2 separate regions of the Homo sapiens genome follow, and region 1 is linked to region 2. The links are contacts of gene promoters, found by promoter capture Hi-C in blood cells and fetal thymus (Javierre and others, 2016). All regions are on one chromosome and are shown on one strand. The core of a region is centred on a gene start or on the middle of the fragment in contact, and the rest is flanking DNA. Distances in the headings are between cores, read along the strand shown. Region 1 holds the start of NLRP1 (NLR family pyrin domain containing 1). Region 2 holds the start of MED31 (mediator complex subunit 31).

The links. Contacts are between HindIII fragments. The CHiCAGO score rates a contact against its expected background, and 5 or more counts as called.
Region 1: the fragment with the promoter of NLRP1 here is called in contact with the fragment with the promoter of MED31 in region 2 in 5 of 17 cell types (M2 macrophages, naive CD4 T cells, M0 macrophages and 2 more); the score reaches 7.6 in M2 macrophages.

Annotation. Positions count from the first base shown.
Region 1 is chr17:5,582,634-5,586,796 of GRCh38, reverse strand. NLRP1 (NLR family pyrin domain containing 1) reads left to right here and starts at 2,288. Exons shown (of 17, transcript NM_033004.4): 1 at 2,288-3,110; 2 at 3,951-4,127. The coding sequence starts at 2,840. RefSeq lists enhancers at 1,900-2,199, 2,220-2,479, 1,751-2,950. The HindIII fragment of the contact is 12,933 bases long and covers 1-4,163 here.
Region 2 is chr17:6,649,678-6,653,850 of GRCh38, reverse strand. MED31 (mediator complex subunit 31) reads left to right here and starts at 2,246. Exons shown (of 4, transcript NM_016060.3): 1 at 2,246-2,350; 2 at 3,418-3,495; 3 at 3,773-3,869. The coding sequence starts at 2,323. C17orf100 (chromosome 17 open reading frame 100) reads right to left here and starts at 2,089. Exons shown (of 1, transcript NM_001105520.2): 1 at 375-2,089. The coding sequence starts at 1,937. The coding sequence ends at 1,581. RefSeq lists silencers at 1,722-1,771, 2,072-2,151 and enhancers at 2,402-2,531, 2,602-2,681, 2,772-2,831. The HindIII fragment of the contact is 11,591 bases long and covers 1-3,807 here.

The DNA.
Region 1 (4,163 bases), core at 1,039-3,538, 1.1 Mb after region 2:
AGGCATGAGCCACTGTACCTGGCCGGATTTGGGAAGTTTTTTAATATTATGTCATAGGGACAGGGTCTTGCCATGTTTCCCAGACTGGTCTTGAACTCCTGGACTCAAGCGATCCTCCCACCTCAGCCTCCCAAAGTGCTGGGATTACAGGCACGAGTCACCACACCTTTGGTTGGACTTTGGTTTTTACTCAGAGTGAGATGGAGTATGGGAAAGTTTTGAGCTGAGAAGTGACCTGACCTAATTTATGCTTTAAGTGGATAATTCTGGCTTCTAGACTGAGAGTAGACAGTAAAGGGGAAGCATCAGCATGGGTGGAGAACATGTGGAAGGCTAGCACAGTGATCCCAGTAAGAGACGACTGAAGGCTGGACCAGCAGCCCCAGTGGGCGTGGTGGGAAGGGTCAGGTTTCTGATCTATTTAACAGGTTGAGTGGATCTCCAGCGGCCAGTGATTTAATGAATTATGCCTGTGAAGTGAAACCTCCGAGAAAACCCCACAGTCTTGTTTGTTTGGGGTTTGGAGAGCTTCCAGGTTAGTGAAGCAGGGAGGGGCAGGGAGAGTAGGGTGCCCGGGAGGGCAAGGAAGCGCTGTGCCCCTCCCCCACCCACACCTTGACCTCGGCATCTCTTCCGTTGGGCTATTCCTGAGTCGTATCCTCCATCATGAACCGATAATAATAAATAAAGTGCTTTTCTCAGTCCTGTGAGTCATTTCAGCAAATTATTGAACCTGCCGGGGACTGTGGGAACCCTTGAATTTGTCACCAAGTCAGACAGAGATGCCAGTGGTCTGGGCACCCCATTTGCAACTGGCATCTGATATGAGGCCAGCTCTTCACTGAAACCCTAAACCTGTGAGGTTTGATGCCAACTCCAGGCAGTCAGTGTCAGAATTGCACTGTAGGACACCAGTTGGTGTCTAGAGAGTTGGTGCCAGAACTGGCTGGTGTGAGGAGGAAAAAAAGCCCACACAGCCCTCCTCCAGGCCATTCCTCCCGCTACATGGAGTCTCACGGTCCTTCACGGAGTGCTCAGAGCCTCCCGATCATCCCACTTTTAGCACAGCACTTTTCCACTTCTGGTCAATCTGATATTAGAATGTCCTACAATGTGCTTATTAGCCATTTTTTAAAACTAACATTTATAAAATTTATTTAGGCCAGGCACGGAGGCTCACACCTGTAATCCCAACATTTCGGGAGGCCGAAGTGGGCGGATCACCTCGGATCAGACTGGCTAACATGGTGAAACCCCATCTCTACTAAAAATACAAAACAATTAGCCAGGCGTGGTGGTGAGTGACTGTAATCCCAACTGCCCAGGAAGCTGGGCTGATGCAGGAGAATCGCTGGAACCCAGGAGGTGGAGGGAGCTTGCAGTGAGCCGAGATCTTGCCACTGCACTCCAGCCTGGGAAAGAGAGAGAGACTCTAAGACCTTTTGCTGAATTGAAGCCTCTTGGTAAACCTATGATGTCCCATTTAATAGATGGGCAAACTGAGGCTCAAAGAAATAAATCAGGCACATAAGGAGTCCTTGTCCAAGCAAGCCGTGGGTTGAAGCCTGGGCTCTGCCAGTCCAAGTGAAACCAAAGCATCTCCAGAAATTCCTGGTGGTGTGTTACATCAGCAAATGAGTAGGCAATGTCATTCCTCAACCTGAAGTCATTGGCATCTTGCAGATTCCACGAAAGAGGAAGTCTGCCCCTGGCTCCCCGAGGCCTGCTTGCAGGAATGAGGAAGGGGCTGTTCTGCTTTCAGGTGGAAATGTTCACCAGCTAAGTGCTGGGCTGCCCAGAAGGCAAACAGCCCCCTGGGCCTGGGACACATGCTTTAGTGCCCCTGGTAGCATGGCAGGACATGCAGTGCAACTCAAGAAGCTCCCAAAACCATGAGAGGCTGGGAAAAATGCTCCCTGGCCCAGTTCTAATGTTTCCCAATAAGGAGCTGCCCGGGCAGACACAGGGGGCCCCACCCATCCTGAGAGGCTGGGCCTGGGCTGCAGACACAACTGCTCGGAGAGTCTGCATCCTGGCTCTGCAGACAGGCTCTAGATGATGGGCTGGCGGAGTGCCCATGTGGAGGTGCACACACCGTGTTTAGTATGGGCCTGTACCTGCTGCAGCGTCAGCTGGTCTGGGCCTGTGCTCCTGGTCCGCCTATAGATGCCATGTGGCCCATCTGAATCTGTGACTCTGAGTCTGGCCTACCCAGGCCTGGTTTGATCCTACCCCCTGGCCACGCCCCTTGTGGGTTTCCTCTGGGTGACGTTTCCTTCCTGCTCTTGTTGACTAGGCGCTGTTCTTGCTGGCTGGTGCCCCAGGGCCTGGAGAGGTCTGAAGAAACCTGGGAGCCAGCAGCCCGGGGCTCCACTCTGGGTTCTGAAAGCCCATTCCCTGCTCTGCGGCTCCTCCCACCCCACCTCTTCTCAGCCTTGCAGCTCAAGGGTTGATCTCAGGAGTCCAGGACCCAGGAGAGGGAAGAATCTGAGGAACACAGAACAGTGAGCGTTGCCCACACCCCATCTCCCGTCACCACATCTCCCCTCACCCTCACCCTCCCTGCCTGGCCCTGGACCCCATCCCAGGACCTCCCTATCAGCTGACTTCTTCCAGTGTCTTGCAGGCCCCTCTGGGCTCCTCCCTCCCCTGGCTTTTCCTACCACTCCCCCTCTATCGGCGTCTATCTGTAGGTGCCCTGGGATTTATAAAACTGGGTTCCGAATGCTGAATAAGAGACGGTAAGAGCCAAGGCAAAGGACAGCACTGTTCTCTGCCTGCCTGATACCCTCACCACCTGGGAACATCCCCCAGACACCCTCTTAACTCCGGGACAGAGATGGCTGGCGGAGCCTGGGGCCGCCTGGCCTGTTACTTGGAGTTCCTGAAGAAGGAGGAGCTGAAGGAGTTCCAGCTTCTGCTCGCCAATAAAGCGCACTCCAGGAGCTCTTCGGGTGAGACACCCGCTCAGCCAGAGAAGACGAGTGGCATGGAGGTGGCCTCGTACCTGGTGGCTCAGTATGGGGAGCAGCGGGCCTGGGACCTAGCCCTCCATACCTGGGAGCAGATGGGGCTGAGGTCACTGTGCGCCCAAGCCCAGGAAGGGGCAGGTGAGTGGACAGAGGACCCCACTGCCCGCGGGACATCCCCTGGCCCTCATGCCTGCCCTGCCCTCTTGGGACCCCACCACTGAGCCCTCCCTGCCAGGCCTTCCTCTGAGCAGTGACATGGAACTGCCCTCTCAAAGGGGGATCCAGGCCCCAGACTATGCTGGAGCCAGGAGGCTTGCTGGGGGGGCCCTTGCTGCACCTCAGAGCCCCACACCCTCTTCTATTCAAGTGCATTCCCGGTACTCGCCTGGCATTGTAGTTATGAGCACGGACTTGGGAGTCAGGCACTATCACCAGTCCTGGCACTATCACCCTGGGCCAATCACTTCACTGCTCTCTGCCTATTTCTCTGTCTGCAAAATGGGAGAGTGAGAGCCCGCCTCCCTGGGCTGTGTGAGGGTTAAAAGAGATCATCCAGGTTAAACATTTAGCACAGAGTCTGATATACAGTAAGTGCTCAATAAATAAGATCTCCCATTGCTGTTGTTGCTGCTGCTGCTGCTGCTGTTATTATTACTATTAGCCACCCTGGGTTGCAGATGCCGTTGGCCCAATAAAGCACAGCTGAGGCTCAGTAGGAGTAGTGATTTACACAGGGAGATAGTCAGGACCAAGACAGATATGCAAATTTCCTGATCCTAGATGAGGATTTTTTGCCTAGCAGTATCTATAAGAACATCATTCTTCAGACAAGCCTCTAGAGGAAGTTGTAGAGGGCTGCAGCGGGTTCACTGGTGTATCCTGACCTCTCTTGGTTGAGAGAGGAGACCAGCTCAGTTCCCTGGCACCTTGCCCCTGCCCCTCTGATGTGTCTCCAACCTCTTTGTCTCTTTCCTGTAGGCCACTCTCCCTCATTCCCCTACAGCCCAAGTGAACCCCACCTGGGGTCTCCCAGCCAACCCACCTCCACCGCAGTGCTAATGCCCTGGATCCATGAATTGCCGGCGGGGTGCACCCAGGGCTCAGAGAGAAGGGTTTTGAGACAGCTGCCTGACACATCTGGACGCCGCTGGAGAGGTGAGGCTTGCTGAGGCAGGCTGACAGCCCTGGGTG
Region 2 (4,173 bases), core at 997-3,496:
ATGTAAATGGCATCATGTCGTTCCCCTGTTGGAAACCCTTCAATGTTTTCCTGTTGACCTTAGAATAATCTCAAATTCCTTACTGTGGCTTAGAAGACCTTCTGTGGACTGGCCCCTGCTTGCTTTTAACTCCTCTCTTCCGTTCTGCTTCCATGTCTATATAATTGCTTCTCTCTCACTCCAGCCACACTGGCCTTCTTTCTGTTCCTTGAACATTCAAAGCTGGTTCCCATCCACCCTTTGTATTTGCTGTTCTTCTGCCTAGAATGCACCTGTTCCAGATCACTGTTCATTCACACATATCTCAGATTACATGTTAACTAATCAGCAAGGCCTTCCCTGACCATTTTATCAAAAGAAGCCACTTACTTCCATTCTCTATCACATTACCCATGTATTTCCTTCATAGTGCTAATCACAATAGAAAATTGTCTTGTTTCATCATTGCTTGTCTGCCTTTTCACCAGAGTGTAAGCTCCACTAGAGCTGGGACTTTGCCTTTTTTACTGCTATAGCCCAAGTTCCCAGAATACAGACAGTTCCCAACTTAAGATGGTTTGACTTATGATTTTTCGACTTTACAATGGTACAAAAGTGACATTCAGTAGAAATAGTACTTTAAGTACTCTTACAACCATTCTTTTTCACTTTTAGTACAGTATGCAATAAATTACATGAGATATTCAACATTTTATTATAAAACAGGCTTTCTGTTAGATGATTTTGCTCAACTTTAGGTGTTCTGAGCATGTTTAAGGTAGGCTAGGCTAAGCCATGATGTTTAGTAGGTTAGGGGTATTAAGTGCATTTTCAAATTACCATATTTTCAACTTACAATAGTTTCAACGGGAGGTAACCCCATCGTAAGTGGAGGAACATCTAGTGCCTGGCACAGAGCCGGTTCTCAATAAATATAACTCTTCTCCATCTTCTTCAAACCTCAGGCCAGGTTTCAGTGACCTCCTCTCACTTTCTAAGATTATTTTTGCTTGCTGGTGGGTTTACTGTCATTTTTAACCACATCTAACCTACCTTAAAAAAGTGTATGGATGGGGGTGCCAGGTACAAAGACTTAGCATAAAGAAAACGACCATTTACTTTGAAACATAAACAAAGGCCAATTAATAATTTATGAGTCTGTTCCTTGTCCCTCGAGTTTTTAGCAGGCATGGAATCATTCCACAGGTCATTATTTCAGTTTGGTCTCTGTTCCTAAGGGGTGAAGGTTTTCTGAGGGCTGTGGATCCCAAACTCACCTGGCTCAGAGGCTCAAACAGCCTCTCTTTGTCCATCAACCCGATTTAGACAGCATCCTGGGCCTGAAAACCTTCTGTGCTGGCTTCAAGTGAAAATAGTTCACTGGGTCAAAAGTAGGCTGGTCCAAGACGCAGGACGGTCAGTAAACGTTGGCTGTGTTCAGAAACTGCGGCTTGGCTGTTTCTTACATTGATTTATGGTTTGTTTCCATGAAACCGAAAATGATTGGTCCACCTGGCAGCTGGCTGGCTGGCTGGCAACTGGAGGCCTTTCTGTCCTGGCTGAGGGCCCTGGCCCCTTGGTGGCCTTTGGGAAGCAGCATCTCATCGGGCCGTTTTTTCGTTCTGGCGGGCGGCCGGCTTGGCCCGCGGGGTCGGGCTCTCCGCGCAGTGCAGAGACGTCTCCACCCTCAGGGACGAGGCTCTGACGTGGCGGGAGGTCGTTTCCGTGCGCTGCGAGGAGGATTCCACGTGCCGGGAGGACGCCTCGAGGATGCGAGGGAGCCGCTTCCCCGAGGGGGAGAGGGAGGGCCCCTCGCTGCGGCGCTGGGAGGTCTCCACCCGCCGGGACGACGTCTCCACGCGGTGGGACGAGGTCTCCACGCGGACCGTGGACGTCTCTGTGTAGCGGGTGGTCCCCACCCGGGGCGAAGACTGCTTGGCCCCTCGGGCTGAGGCCATTCTGCCGGCGTGAGGGGGCCAGGGAGGCCTCGGGGCACCCTACAGCCCAATGGTCACCGCAGGCAGAAGAGAGGAAAACTACGGTACTGCCATAGCCGGGAGCGCCACAACACGATGACGTGGAAGCACCATGGTCCTTCGAAGGCTAAAACACTGGACTCCTGCCCCTCAGGCGCTCCCACGGCCCGGGCCCCGCCCCCTCGCTATTTTGGAGCCAGCGCGGGTGGAGCCATCCCAGGGCTGGTCGGGGATGGGCGGAGCCGCCCCGCCCCATATCCCACAGTGCCCCGGGACCGGAAGAGGGAGCCGTGGTTTCCGGAACTTCGCCCGCGTCTCTGGGCTTTTGCTCTGTCAGGCTGGTGGCGTTTTGGTGTCTTCGTTTGTTATGGCCGCTGCTGTCGCTATGGAGACAGGTGAGTAGCTCTCTGATCTTGGAGTCTTCGCAGATGGAACTCTCCTTGACCCAGACCTCTTCCCCGTGGCCTCCTTCCAGGCCTTACTCTTGGCAGGGTTAATATTTGGACAGAGAGGAGAGAAGGCTCTTGTAGCGTCTAGAAAGACTAAGGTACTCTTTGCAGTTTTCCTGATTTGGTTTGTTCGCACATCTTTGCTATTCAGACACCACCCCACCAGCTCCCTGGCGTGGGTGAGACTAAGGGAGAGGACTTGTGTGTTAAACCGTGTCCTCCTTGATTGGTTTTCTGCTTCTCACATGAGCTTGCCTAAGTTTGAAATATCGTCGCCAGACTTGTGTATCATTCTGCTACTGGTGCTTCTTTTTTTTTTTTTTTTTGAGACAGCGTCTGGCTCTGTCGCCCAGGCTGGGGTGCAGTGGCGCGATCTCGGCTCACTGCAAGCTCCGCCTCCTGGGTTCACGCCATTCTCCTGCCTCAGCCTCTCAAGTAGCTGGGACTACAGGAGCCCGCCACCGCTCCCGGCTAATTTTTTTTGTATTTTTAGTAGAGACGGGGTTTCACTGTGTTAGCCAGGATGGTCTCGATCTCCTGACCCTGGTGCTTCTTATATGCATGCGCTGCATGATCTTTTAGGCTCTCCGCAGTCTCTTGCATCCTAAGTTTTTCTTTACTGATTCAGCCCCTAGCGTTTGCGAAACTTAATCACTGTTAACAGTTGTTACAACGCATTATTAAAATAGGGGAAGCCACAGTTATTACAGCCTACCTTAGTGATCACTGTTAAAATTCCTACATAGTGGCCCACGAGTGGTAGGAATTCTCCGTTTGTGTTGCTGTTTTCTTTGATGATTTCTCTTTAACTTTAGAGAAACTTCTAACTTACTCCTTTTAATCAGGGCTCCGCTTTTCTTAGATTTCGAAGGAAGGTTTATCTCCTCCCACTCCTAGTTTAGGAAGACCATCTCAACATTAGTCAGGTTTCTTTATTGCTCTTTCCTTACTACAAATCAGTATTATATACAGTGACCTTTGTTTTCCATGATTTTTGCTGTCTTGTCTCCTAGATGATGCTGGAAATCGACTTCGGTTTCAGTTGGAGTTGGAATTTGTGCAATGTTTAGCCAACCCAAATTACCTTAATTGTAAGTTGTTAAGCACCTCATTAAATTGAGTAGCTATTAATGATTTCTGACAGAAGAGTTGCAGTTCAAAATAGTATCTACTTTTACACATTCTCAGTTGAATGACATTACACTTATGCTGGTATATAGATATAATTGCGTACTGGGACTTGTGTTTTGAATCCAATGTGTGTTGGTGGTGGGGGTGTTATGTAAATAGATCCTTTATATTAGGGGTAACAAATCACAGTTTAAGGATTGGTTTGACCTACAGATTTTTTTTTTTAATGCTTTTCAGTTCTTGCCCAAAGAGGTTACTTCAAAGACAAAGCTTTTGTTAATTATCTTAAATACTTGCTTTACTGGAAAGACCCAGAATATGCCAAGTATCTAAAGTAAGTTTAATTTTTATAATCCTAAGCATGTGTATACTTTATTATATAATAGATTTCTTAGTTTCACATTGGCAAAAATGTATTTGGAATCTCTCCACTTCTTTTTGTTATCACCGTCTTAATACAAGACACCCTCATCTCTAACTTGTAACACTGCAGTAATCTACTCCCTGGTTATCTGTGCTTCCACTTTTACCTTCCTGCCCCCATCTCCACCCCAACCCAAACCAAGCAAAACAGCTTTCTACACAGAAACCAGCTTAATCTTTTAAAAATATAAATCAGAACACTTTACTTTCTTGCT